3 separate regions of the Homo sapiens genome follow, and regions 1 and 3 are each linked to region 2. Evidence: promoter capture Hi-C in human tissues and cell types (Jung and others, 2019). All regions are on one chromosome and are shown on one strand. The core of a region is centred on a gene start or on the middle of the fragment in contact, and the rest is flanking DNA. Distances in the headings are between cores, read along the strand shown.

The links. The method cuts DNA at HindIII sites, captures the fragments that hold promoters and counts their contacts. A contact is called where the count stands out against the background at its distance.
Region 1: a fragment that was not itself captured here is called in contact with the fragment with the promoter of THBS3 in region 2 in 1 of the 25 tissues and cell types used here (neural progenitor cells).
Region 3: a fragment that was not itself captured here is called in contact with the fragment with the promoter of THBS3 in region 2 in 3 of the 25 tissues and cell types used here (dorsolateral prefrontal cortex, mesendoderm cells and spleen).

The regions. Positions count from the first base shown.
Region 1 is chr1:155,335,911-155,340,053 of GRCh38, reverse strand. It overlaps ASH1L (ASH1 like histone lysine methyltransferase), which reads left to right. Exons shown (of 28, transcript NM_018489.3): 26 at 686-726; 27 at 1,664-1,965; 28 at 2,303-4,143. The coding sequence ends at 2,394. Among named protein-coding and RNA genes, the nearest start is that of MIR555, 8.5 kb to the left of the region's middle. The HindIII fragment of the contact is 5,423 bases long and covers 1-4,142 here.
Region 2 is chr1:155,205,727-155,210,190 of GRCh38, reverse strand. THBS3 (thrombospondin 3) reads left to right here and starts at 2,294. Exons shown (of 23, transcript NM_007112.5): 1 at 2,294-2,393; 2 at 3,785-3,991. The coding sequence starts at 2,315. It overlaps MTX1 (metaxin 1), which reads right to left and starts at 1,496. Exons shown (of 8, transcript NM_002455.5): 1 at 859-1,496. The coding sequence starts at 1,386. RefSeq lists a silencer at 947-1,146 and an enhancer at 2,510-3,293. The HindIII fragment of the contact is 12,638 bases long and covers 942-4,464 here.
Region 3 is chr1:155,018,048-155,022,247 of GRCh38, reverse strand. It overlaps DCST2 (DC-STAMP domain containing 2), which reads left to right. Exons shown (of 15, transcript NM_144622.3): 15 at 3,488-3,721. The coding sequence ends at 3,704. It overlaps ZBTB7B (zinc finger and BTB domain containing 7B), which reads right to left. Exons shown (of 3, transcript NM_001256455.2): 3 at 3,725-4,200. Among named protein-coding and RNA genes, the nearest start is that of DCST2, 14 kb to the left of the region's middle. The HindIII fragment of the contact is 3,850 bases long and covers 238-4,087 here.

The DNA of each region.
Region 1 (4,143 bases), core at 182-2,681, 130 kb before region 2:
TGCTCAATCAATAGCTTACTGACTAGCTTTGAAACCCCAGCCTTAACTACAGTCATGTGCAACATGTTTCAGTCAACATTGGACTGCATATACAACGGTGATCCCGTAAGATTATAATGGAGCTGAAGAATTCCTTCCTATCATCTAGTGATGTCATAGCTGTCGTAACATACTGCAATGTAATACCTTTTCTATGTTTAGATACACAATACTTACCATGGTATTACAACTGCCTACAGTATTCAGTACAGTATTGTGCTGTATATATAGGCTTGTAGCCTAGGAGCAATAGGCTATACTAAATAGCCTAGGTGTATAGTAGGCTATACTATCTAGGTTTGCGTAAGGATGCTTTATGATGTTTACATAACAATCAAATCACGTGATGACATATTTCTCAGAACATATCCCCGTATGACCCCAAGCGACATATGACTGTATTTAAAAGGTGAAATGGGATAGAGAAAATTGTGCACTTATCCCTCCCATTGTCATCCTGGGAGCACAAAATGCTGATAATCATTGTGGCCTGCATATTCATAGAAGTACTAAATTTCTCATCTTAAAACAAAGTCACCCAACTTGTCTACTGCCCTACTGTGTTCCTTATCCTGACTGGCCCCAGAGAAGAGCTAGCTCTCCCAGCTTCTACAATATGCTTACCTCTTCCTTTTCTTCTCTGCAGCCTCATTACGTCCCAGACAACTACAAGAGGAATGGAGGACGGTAAGTCCCATGGGGGGATATGAGGATCCTAAGGGATTGACTAAGAGCTTGAATGGATCAAGAAAACAAACAACTACCCACTCAGCTCCACTTCTAGGACTGGGTATTCTCTGCAGAGTAGCCCAGTGTAGTGCCAGCACTATGGAAGAACTAAATTTCAGTAGATGTGGTCCCATTATGGAGCCTTAATTGGAGCAACAGAGAGATGTGCAGGGAGTAGAGACAGAGATTTGGAACAGAACTCCAGACTCAGAAAAGTTTCTTTTAGATGTCTGTAAGCTTTCCCCATTACCTCAAGGTATATCAGCTCTTGGTACCTCTATCAAGGAACAGATGTAGCCAGTACAGTTTTCACTGAGCTATGAACTATGGGTTCATAGTTTTTATTTTTGCTTATTTTGTACGTGAGGATTATTCCTGAAGAAAGATGACAGAAGGCTTTTTCTTCAGTCTCCTCATCTGTTGAATGGGGGCATAACAACTGCTTTACCTACACCAATAGCTTACCATAAGGGAGAAAATATTAGACTATTGATATGAAAAAGGGAAGCACGAAAATTTAAAACTCCATTTAAATATTTATTATTGTAGTTGGATTATTGGCATCACAAGGTTGTGCCGTGCTTCTCTAGTCATGAAGCAGTCATTTAGAACCAGCTAAGCAATTTTATTAGCCCTTGTATATTTTATGGATTCCTATACCATTTGTGAATATTCCTAAGAGAAATAATAAAAGTTGAATTTTACAAATAAATTTCTGGTAAAGGTAGTGTTTTATTCAAATAATATAAAGTGAAAACGAGAGTCAAGTTTCTTACCTCAAGCTAAGGCTCTAACTGCTGGACTCCAGGATCTCAAGCCATCTTGAGGCCTCCTACCCTTCATCCCCTTTTCCTCCTCAAGTGTCTTACACTAAATTCAGATATCCTTCTGGCAGATCATCCTGGAAGTCTGAGCGCTCAAAGCCACCCCTAAAAGACTTGGGCCAGGAGGATGATGCTCTACCCTTGATTGAAGAGGTTCTAGCCAGTCAAGAGCAAGCAGCCAATGAGATACCCAGCCTGGAGGAGCCAGAACGGGAAGGGGCCACTGCTAACGTCAGTGAGGGTGAAAAAAAAACAGAGGAAAGTAGTCAAGAACCCCAGTCAACCTGTACCCCTGAGGAACGACGGCATAACCAACGGGAACGACTCAACCAGATCTTGCTCAATCTCCTTGAAAAAATCCCTGGAAAAAATGGTAAGAAGAATCAGGTTCATATCTAGGGTTTAAGATAAATGCGAAATGAGAGGGAATGGAAAAAAATTGTAATTACTGGTTCAGCATCCAAAGTATTCTAAGAAAATGGTATAGTTCTTTTATAGGCTTGCTTTTAGTTGTATCTTGGTAGTGAAACTGGAAGGTGAGATGATCTCCTCTAAAGAACCACCTTTTTCACGTAGGGTTGGAGGATGGGCTAAATTGCTTATAGGTCAGAAAAGGAATCATTGAGTTCGTGTGCTCTCCTTAGAGCTCAAATCTGGAATAAGGAGTAGGAGATTGGTATTTTGATGAGCCTCCTTGGTTCTGTTTTCAGCCATTGATGTGACCTACTTGCTGGAGGAAGGATCAGGCAGGAAACTGCGAAGGCGTACTTTGTTTATCCCAGAAAACAGCTTTCGAAAGTGACCCTCAAAGAATGAGAACCTCAAGCATCTGGGATCCAGTGGAGCTAATCAGTCCTGCCTCCTGCTCTCTGGGTATAGACAGGGGTGGGAAGGGTCCATCTGGGCAAGGGGAATGGGGCCATGTTGTTGACATTAGGTACTTAATAAGCCTTGGAGCTAGTGGAGAGGGAGAGGAAAGGGTTCTGTCCAAGACAGTTCAGGTTAATTAATTTTCTTCTCCATTGCTTCACCTTAAGGGTTAATAATGTAGAGAGGAGGGAGGACCACATTGATGACCAGAACCTACTGGTACTTTATAGCATTTGCCCCACCCCACAGCTTAGGTTTTTCTGTCATCCTCAGATCCCACAGGCATTGCGAAGAAGCTGCTTCCTATACCCAGGTATAACTCAAAATCCAAAGGGATAGGGCCAGGATCCCTATTCCTACCCCATCTATTCTCTGTTGGCTCCAAGAGCTACCCCAGAGACCTTAAACAGAAACAGTAGCTGAGGCTTCTTCCTAGATACCTGACTAGGGAAGTTTGTCTCTCCTTTCTTGCCCAACCAGGTCAAAGTAAAATGTGAGTTGACAGCTCAAAGCACTTGTAACTGCTGCCCCCTCCCTACCTCTACTCCCCAAAATGGAATCATGGGATAGGGAAGGCCCCCATGGGGTCAGAAGGGCACGGTAGTTCTTGCAATTATTTTTGTTTTACCCTTCATAACCTGTCAAACATATTTTTTTCTAATGAGAAAGCCAGGCCCCCGCCAGCACACATGCTGTTTTTAATGCGCTGTAGTTCTTGTGTGTCTGCTGTGCTGTGCAAATGGAGATTCAGTTCAAAATAAAATCATTTAAAAACCTACATAAAAAGAACTCTAAACCCACCCCTGCAACAAAAGTCACTACATAAACTGTTCAGCAGTATTCACCTATCAGAGTATTTGTTGTGAGTATAGATTATCAATTGAAAACACTACTCTTGTTTTCTTAATTGTACAGTTTTCAATGTCCCTTTCTTAAAGAGACAGTATATTTCTCTTCACCCCTAGCCCATCTTCCCTCACCCTCCTGAATGACATCAGGAGGTATATCCAGGGTGTCTCCTTCCTTCCTACTCTCTTGACCAGAAGTTAACAGACTATACTGTCTCTTTAAAAATAAAATTTAAAAAGCTTTGTTGTCTTTTCAGACATACATATGCATATATGTTTTAGATGTTCTTATAAGAGAAAAGATGGTTTTTAAATGTGCCAAGTTGTGTGTGTGTGTGTATATATATGTGTGTATGTGTGTGTATATATATATGTGTGTGTGTATATATATACACACACACACACACACCTGCTGTGTGATTGGTAAGCAATACAATAGTAAACATGTCCCCATTACTTTTTTCTAATATTGGACCAATGCTGTCCTAATTGTACATTTCCCCTTATGGTGACGATGCTCTGACTCGTTTAGGTAGACACATTGACCACCTTCCATTCCATTAAATATTTTTTCCTTTTTCCCCTTTCTGTGTCATTCTTGAGGAAAAAACAAAAGAGAGAGGGGATGCCAATGATCCCCTTGAGCAGAGAAAAAGCAAAATAAATATTTTATTAAAGAAAAAAGAGAATTAAGAAAATAGTTTGGAGTATTTTCTTACTGTAGAGAAGCACTGTACATTACTAAGAGACCTGGGTATAAGATACTCACATGTGGAGCTGGAAAAATCGCATGTCCAAGCCCGTTTGAGTGGTTTCTTTTGTTTTTCATTGCA
Region 2 (4,464 bases), core at 1,045-3,544:
TTACAAATGGACAACACAGGGCTCAGAGAGATTCCGGACATGTCTGTGATTACAGGACAGCCAGGAAAATCCTTTCCTCTATCTCCTCTCTTGCCATCTACCTGGTGAACATCTATCCTCAGAAGCTTTTCCTAACCAGTATCCCTCTTCTTGGAAGCACTGATAATGCCCTTCTCTTTGGCAGTATCTGTGGTCTGTTCCTACTTTAACTTATATGTGAATATTTTATTATATTTATTTGCTTACCTATCTGCCTTTCTGTAAACTCGAAGGGAGGAACCAAATTTTATTCATCTTTGCCTGGCAATGTTTAATATTTGGAAGAAATCTAATAGATCCTCTTTAAAGCAAGGAGTCAATGAATAAATGAAGCAAAGGAAGTCTGATTGCTAAGCTCTTTATACAAAGCCTGGCTGTGAGTCGTTTGGTCTAACAAACAATAGCCTCAGTAAATGCTGTTAAGTGAGGAGGAAGAGGAGAAGGGGGCTGAGGAGAAGGCAGGAATTCCAAGCTAGAGTAGGTCCCTGAGACAGTCCAGCCTAGTAAACCTCCGAATGGAGAAAAAAAATGCCCAAAGAGAAAGGATCTCCGCAAGGTCACACAGCCAGTGAATGGATGAGCAAGGACTAGAACCCATCACCTGAACTCCCAACCAGGCGTCTTTTCATTGCTGCATTAAGCCTAGAAAACTACAGCATAGGGCACTGAGGCCATATCGGCCACGTACGCTCTTTGACTGCCTCAGTTTCCCCCACTGCGCCCGTGCTGAGTAGCCCTGGCAAGGTTTGGATGCTTGGCTAGTTCGGCCCCCTCCCCAGTCATCAGGGCACAGCAGAGGGCGCCGGCGCCACCCCTCACCAGCACGGCCAGGCTGTCCAGGTCCACTGACGGCAGCCCCCAGCCCCCTGACCAGCAGAACAGCTCCATGGGCGCCGCCATCTTGCCCACCCTCTGTCCCGGAAACACTTCCTTGTGTGCTTCTGCCCTCCCCTGCCTGGGCCCGCCCCCCGCCACCGCCCCTCCGATCGTTGCGGTCAGGGGGCCTGGGGAGATCCCCGGGGAGGCGAGGCTTCTTCTGGCCCGACTGGCAGCTGAACTGCGGGGGACTGGGCCGCGGGCCTCGGGGGAGGGCGGCCGCCGGCCCATCCAGAGGTGGCCCACGTAGCGGGACAGCGCTGTCGGCCCGGCGCGCCTCGGAGAGTCACGGCGCCTCGTCCAAGTGGAGCCCCGAACCCCTGAAGGCGCGGCAGGCTCTGGAGAGCGGGGTCTTGTGCGCCTGGGCCAGGTCTGGGGGCTCTTGCCAAACTGCACGTGGCCTGTACTGCTCCAGGGCCCCTTGGGGCTCGTCCCCGAGCGGGGACTGCGGGGGGGTCCCCCGAGCAGCATGTTTTCCACAGCGCGTTATGTTTGGAGCGGGCCCTGCGCCGCCTGTCGCCATGGAAACAAAACAGGGGCGGTGGCGGCGGCCGGAGCGGAGGCCGGGCTGGGGCTTGGGTGGGGGAGGGGAAGAGAGGCTCGCAGGCTGTCGCTTAGGTGACGGGAACTCAGGCGCCCCTCTGCTTCATCCGGGTCACGGCCCGTCCGCTAGTACCCACAGTGTTCCACAGTCTGGTCCTTGGCTCCTCGCCTGTACCCCTGGTCTTCTGCGCCTGTCCCTGGTGTCCCTTTCCTCTTTTTTGGTTTCTTCACTCTGACCTCACTGACCACTGCTTTAGATTCTCCCTTCAGTTCCCGTCAGACGCTTCCAGACTCCCAAGCTTTCCTACGAATGAGGGAAAATGGAGAAACAGGCACTTGTCAGGGGACCCCCCACCCTAATAAAGAGCACTTGCTCCGCCAGAACAGCAAAATTCATGCCATGTGGGCATCCCTGGGCACTATAGCAAGCTAGTTGCGGCCACTCCCTTGGCATCCTTTCCTGCCAGCTGTGGAATAATGCCCACTGTCTAGCACTGCCCCTGCCAGGGGTTCTTGCCTTCCACAATCGTGGCTTCCAGAAAACAGTGGCATTCGGTAGCGCTGTGTGCCGAGACCCCCAACAATGATGACTGCGGAGAGGGAGGCACCTGGGGGAGGATCATTAGGGAGAGGTAGAAAGCAGGGAGGCCTCCAGGATTCTTTCCCAGTGCCCCTGGTTCCCAGAGCTGATGATGCCTCCAGGGTGATTGGCAGCTCTTTGTTTCAGCCCCCCCTCACCCGCCTGCTGGCCCCCCCTCCAATTCTGTCCCTCCGCCCCCCGGCTCCTGCTCTCTCCGCCTAGCCTTTTCCCCTCCCAGCTGCCTGCCTGCCAGGGGTAGTGAGCCGGCTGAGAGGCATGGAGACGCAGGAACTTCGGGGGGCCCTGGCTCTTCTCCTCCTTTGCTTTTTCACATCTGCCAGTCAGGATCTGCAGGGTAAGCCTGTCTCCATCCTCTTAGACCGCTCTCTGCTTCTTCCCCATTTGCCCTCAGCCCAAGTAGCAGAGAACATGTGGGCAAGGGGAGAGGGGAAGAGTCCAGAAATTGAGCCAGAGGAAAACTTAAGACTGCCTAGAGTTGGTGAAATTATGGCCTGGTGGAGAGGAGTGGGCACCGGAGAGTAGTGGGGGAGCTGGAACAGGACAGGGTCAGGCATGAGGCCAGGGCAGAGGACTCAGGAACTGGATGCTCAGGCTGCCTGGCTGGGGTGGTTCCTGAGCATCTGTAGGCACCCTAGGGTCTGGGAGAGCAGCCTGAAGGTGGGCGTACTGTAGGTCCCTGGGCTTCGTCCCCCTGGGCTCCTGGCTGCCCAAGGACAGGGCGGGGGTGGGGACCAAGAAGCCTGGGCTCTCCCGGAGGTCTGGTGGTGGGATGGGCCGATGGATGTGGGAGAGGTAGCTGGAGCAGATGACACAGGCATAGATTCTTTACTGGCTGGAGGGAAAACCACAGATTGGCCAGGACACAGGAGGCAGAGGAGCTGGGTCCTACATTCCCGTGGGAGATAGCCCAGATGGTGGGAGGGTTAGAGTCCTCAGTGGGCAGCTGTTCTTATCCAGAGCGAGTGTGCTGCGCCCCTAGGATGGGAGGAGGGGAACTAGGGTGTGGAACGAGCCAAACCCAGGAGTGGAAAGAGAAGCTGCCTTCCATTTCTACGTTGTGGACACCAGGTGCCACTCCTGTGGGGGATCAGCACAGCATCTCCTTTGCGCCACCTGGTGGGGGCATCTCAAATTTGTGGGGTGCTGTTTCTGTGTTTCCAAGTGAGTCTCAAACCTGCAGGTTCCTGGAAGGTAGTAATAGGCAATAATGGGGAAAGGAAGGCACAGTGCCTCTGTCCTCTGAGAGCAACAAGGGTTGAGGTTTTTTTTTGTTTTCGTTTTGTCTTTTTGAGATGGAGTTTCACTCTTGTTGCCCAGGCTGGAGTGCAATGGCGCGATCTCGGCTCACTGCAACCTCCACCTCTCAGGTTCAAGCGAGTCTCCTGCCTCAGCCTCCTGAGTAGCTGGGATTACAGGTGCCCGCCACCACGCCCGGCTAGGTGGTTTTTTTTTCTTTTTTGTTGTTGTTTTTGTATTTTTAGTAGACACGGGGTTTCACCGTGTTGGCCAGGCTGGTCTCGAACTCCTGACCTTAGGCGATCCACCTGCCTCAACCTCCCAAGGTGTTGGGATTACAGGTGCGAGCCACCATGCCCAGCCAAGGGTTGAATTTTGAGGTGACTAACGCTGCCTGGTGGTGGGGGTAGGGGGTGATGTGGGCTCGGGGGAGGGCATACCTTAGCATTTGATCCCATTCTCTAACCTTGATAACCCCTGCCTGACCAGTAATTGACCTGCTGACTGTGGGCGAGTCTCGGCAGATGGTAGCTGTGGCAGAGAAGATCCGGACAGCCTTGCTCACTGCTGGGGACATCTACCTCTTATCCACCTTCCGCCTGCCCCCCAAGCAGGGTGGTGTCCTCTTTGGCCTCTATTCTCGCCAAGACAACACTCGATGGCTGGAGGCCTCTGTTGTAGGCAAGATCAACAAAGGTGACTGGTGGGCATCTCCTTTCTTGCAATGGTGACCTCCTTAAGCACTCTCCCTCATCCCTACTTCCCAAGTGCTTCCTCATTCTCCTTGGCCTCCACTAGGGACCAAGGTCCCATCAGGCTGTGCCCAGACATCAGGGGCACCTGGTATGGGGTGCTTATAAGGTGCTTTAGGAGCCCATGTACCAAACAATAGGGTGAGGCTTGAGTCCTGATATTTATAGGGATGGGAGGTTGTACTTGGGGATGCCTGGAAGGAGGGTGAGGCATGTCTCTGTGCCTCAGCGGTGATACAGAAAGGTCTTTCAGATCCCTGGAACAGGTCAGTGGCCACAAAACCAGCTGTCACCCTAGGAGAGGATACAGTCATCTGATACCAATGAAGACTAAGAAAGTATTTGTCTCTAAACCAATTATTTTTTTAAATGGAGTCTTGCTTTGTCACCTAGGCTGGAGTGCAGTGGTACAATCTC
Region 3 (4,200 bases), core at 913-3,412, 190 kb after region 2:
GGGCAAGAACCTTAACTTGTCATTTGAAAAGCTTAGGTTGGAAAGTGATATGCTCATATTTGTCTTTTAAGACCATAAGCGGGCCGGGCACGGTGGCTCATGCCTGTAATCCTAGAACTTTGGGAGGCCGAGGTGGGTGGATCACCTGAGGTCAGGAGTTCGAGACCAGCCTGGCCAACATGGCGAAACCCCATCTCTACTAAAAATACAAAAATTAGCCGGGTTTGGTGGTGCATGCCTGTAGTCCCAGCTACTCGGGAGGCTGAGGCAGGAGAATTGCTTGAACCCAGGAGGCAGAGATTGCAGTGAGCCAAGATCACACCACTGCACTCCAGCCCAGCCTGGATGATAGAGTGAGACTCAGTCTCCAAAAAAAAAAAAAAGACCATAAGCAAAGAAGGCAGAGTGGAGGTTGGGCAGGAGCAGGGAGGTCAGAGAGAAGCTTGTCTTAGTCTAGGAGAAGTTCGTGATGGCCTCAGTACTGAAGTGCTGAGCGTGACTGGGATTTCTATGCTTGGGCCTGGGCAGGTGTTAGGGCAGGAAGATAAACAGGTTCTGGGGAAAGACGACTGGCCCAGTTTGAGATCTTTGAGGTGTCTGTAGGGCATCCAGCTGGAGATGCCCAGGGGGGCAGTTAGAAAAGGGCAGGGATCCGGGCTGGAGGTATATTTTTGGGGGGTTAAGTTAGAGACTGTAAGAGAGAGGATGAGCTAGATCATCCTGGCAGAGGGCATGGCAGGAGAGTGGGAGGGGACAGGGAGGGGAGAGGCTCAAGAAAGCAGGAGAGCCAAACATATGAAATCAAGTAGGGGGATGGGCACAGTGGCTCACACCTGTAATTTCAGCAATTTGGGAGGCCGAGGTGGGCCGATCACTTGAGTCCAGGAGTTCGAGACCAGCCTGGGCAACATGGCAAAACTCCATCTCTACTAAAAATACAAAAACTTGCCAGGGCATGGTGGCTCACGCCTGTAATCCCAGCACTTTGGGAGGCTGAGGCGGGAGGACCACTTAAGGTCAGGAGTTCGAGACCAGCCTGGCTAACATAGTGAAACCCCATCTCTACTAAAAATACAAAAATTAGCCAGGAGTGGTGGCACGCACCTGTTAGTCCCAGCTACTCAGGAGGCTAAGGCAGGAGAATTGATTGAACCTGGGAGGTGGAGGTTGCAGGGAGCTAAGATTGTGCCACCGCATTTTAGCCTGGGTGACAGAGGGAGGATTGGTCTCAATAAATAAATAGGTAATAATACAAAAATTAGCTGGGCATGGTGGCGTGCATCTTTAGTCCCAGCTTTCAGGAGGCTAAGGTGGGAGGGATCACTTGAGCCAGGGAGGCTGAGACTGCGGTGAGCCAAGATTGCACCACTGCACTCCAGCCTGGGCAATAGTACAAGACCCAGTCTCAAAAAATTAGAAGATTAAAAAAAAAAAAATCAAGTAGGATCATGTGAAGACAGGTGACAGGCAGTTAAGACATCACTGGAGTAGCTTGTGGGAATATTTTTCATGGCATCGGGAAGACCAAAACTGGATCTGTCATGATGGGTTGAGGGGTGTCAGGTAAAGAAGACTCAGAAAGGCTGGGTGTGGTGGCTCACGCCTGTAATCCTAGCACTTTGGGAGGCTGAGGCGGGCAGATCACTTGAGGTCAGGAGTTTGAAACCAGCCTGGCCAACATGGTAAAACCTTGTCTCTACTAAAAATACAAAAAATTAGGCATGGTGGCAGGCGCCTGTAATCCCAGCTACTTGGGAGGCTGAGGCAGAAGAATCACTTGAACGCGGGAGGCGGAAGTTGCAGTGAGCCGAGATCGTGCCACTGCACTCCAGCCTGGGCGACAGAGCAAGACTCTGTCTCAAAATAAATAAATAATAAAAGGACTCAGAAATATGGTATGTGGCTCCTGCATCACTGTTGCCAGGAGTTTGATAATGCTTTTAATCTAATGAGTGCTGTAGTTTGAAAAAAATGTAAGCTTGATGGTGAAGAGAAAGAGAGAGTTAGCTTCACAGAGCAAGAAAGTAGCTTGAAGGGGATTCAGCACTAAAAGGGTTTTCTAGATCTAAGAACAGGAAGATTTGAGCATTTAGGCAGTGTAAAAGCACGTTGGGGAGGGAGGTTTGGGCTCCAGGGCCAGGTGGACCAGGTGGCCTGCCTGAGAAAGGAGCAGGCTGGCAGAGGCAGAGGGGGAGAGTATAGGTTCCCCTGAGCAGCTGAGCCCACTCCAGCCTGGTGGCCTCGCTTCTCTTTGGGGAGTAGGAGGCAAGAGCACCTGCTGAGAGAGCAGAGCAGGCAGCTGGGAGTGGAATAAAGGTTTCAAGGAGTGGGTGGTAGAGGTTGAAAGACCTGCCGTGGCAAGTGTGCAAAGAAGCCGACTAGGGAGGTTAAGGGATTTCCAGGTAGCGTCAAAGGCCCAGATGATGCTGGAAGCTGTAACTTGTAATGATTGCTCCAGTGCGCTCAGTTATGTGATTTTCTCTGGCAAATGTGGTAGCCATGAATAGGATTCACAGGTGGAGGGCTTTTTCTGGGCAGGTCAGGAGGACAAGATGGAGTGAGAATTGAGGTGTCTTTGGTAAGAGTGTCTGAGATGACTGGGGAAGAGGAGGGGCTAAGGCCCCTGGGGGCAGCCCAGGGTCTCTGTCTTGATGACGTGTTAGAGCAGGGGCAGTGGCCAGGAGGGAGAGCTGGCTGAACAGGAGGGACTCAGAGAGGGGGCCATGGCCAGGGAAGAACTCTGGAATGAATCCAGTGAAAGGCCAAGGCTGAGGAAGACGTCTGAGTGGGAACAGAGATGACGGTCAATAGAACCAAGGAGGTTAGGGATTGAGAGGCCAGAGAATTGGGTGGGTCCTCTAGCGACGAGGTTGCAGGACCATACAAACAGCAGGAGTCCAGAGCCGGCATCTTAAACAGATGTGGCAGGTGTCTGGCAGGCCTGAGGAGACAGCCACAGCACTGGTGGTACAGCTATCATGGCAGCCAGGGGCTTTGCAAAAAAACACTACGGGCCAGCTGGGTTTGAGAAGGTTAAGCTGCCTCCTCTTGGGAGGACTGCAAAGAAAACTGTCCAGTGGGCACATTCCAGTGTGAATGGGGCGGTAGAGGTCATGATGAGTCAAGAGGTTGAAGGGGAAGCAAAGCTTTCTTTTCAGAGGTTCTAGAGGGCCCAGTGAAAGGATAAGCTGGGTCAGCAGAGGGGACAGCTTGAGCCTTGAGCAGGTGTGACTACTGAGGTCACTAGTGATTCTGCCCTTCCTAGCCATGTGGCCTCAGGCAAGTCACTGCCCACCCCCCAGCATCAGCCTAAAATCAGAAAATATCTACAGCCATGGGCTGGTACGCCTCGTGGGCCTGAGAGAGCAGGAGTTGCTCAGAAAGAACAGGAGCTGGATCTGAACAGATGGGGCAGGGCAGGGGGCAGGGATGCACCTGTGAAGACAGAAGGTGGGTGATCCGGCCACCCCCTTCCTCTCCTCACTAGTGACCTGGATGAGGAGAAGGGGCCTCAGCAGAGGAAGCACGGGCAGCAGCCCTTACCTGAAGCCCATCAGCCTGTCAGCATTCTCACCAGCCCTGAGCCCCACAGACCACCTGAGACATCCTCCGCCACTAAAGGAGCCCCCACTCCAGCTTCAGAACCCTCAGTCCCTCTCTCACCTCCCTCTCTTCCTGATCCTTCCCACCCACCCCCCAAATAAACCAAAAGTGGACACAAGTGTGAATCTTAAATTATTATTATTTCTTCCTGTCGCTTACACCCGAGGTGGGGGAGTTGGGGTGGGGGGAAGGGAATAGGAGGGGGGGAGTGCCTCTCCCCCTAAGGCACTGACTGGGAAAGCCGAAAGTAGGGAGAAGGGAGGCCACATTGTCCCCACTTTCTGGGGCTGGGCCCCAGGTCTCCCCAGCCCTGGGCTCCCCCCATCACCTGAAATGCTAAGATGAGGCCCAGGACAACCCGATCTCCCCGCCACCCCAATATATTACATCATCACTTTTTAAATAGATAACAGGGACTGGTCCCGCTACCCCCTCCCTGTGACCCCTCCCCACTGTTAGGGGTACCTGGGCAGCTGTGCAAATGGGCATGGGGGTGCATGGAAGGGAGGAAGAGCACCGGGCCCCTGAACCTGCCCCTTTTAAGGAGGGGGAGGAGCCGTCAGGCCAGGAAGGGGAAATAGTGCAAGGCAGAGCCCA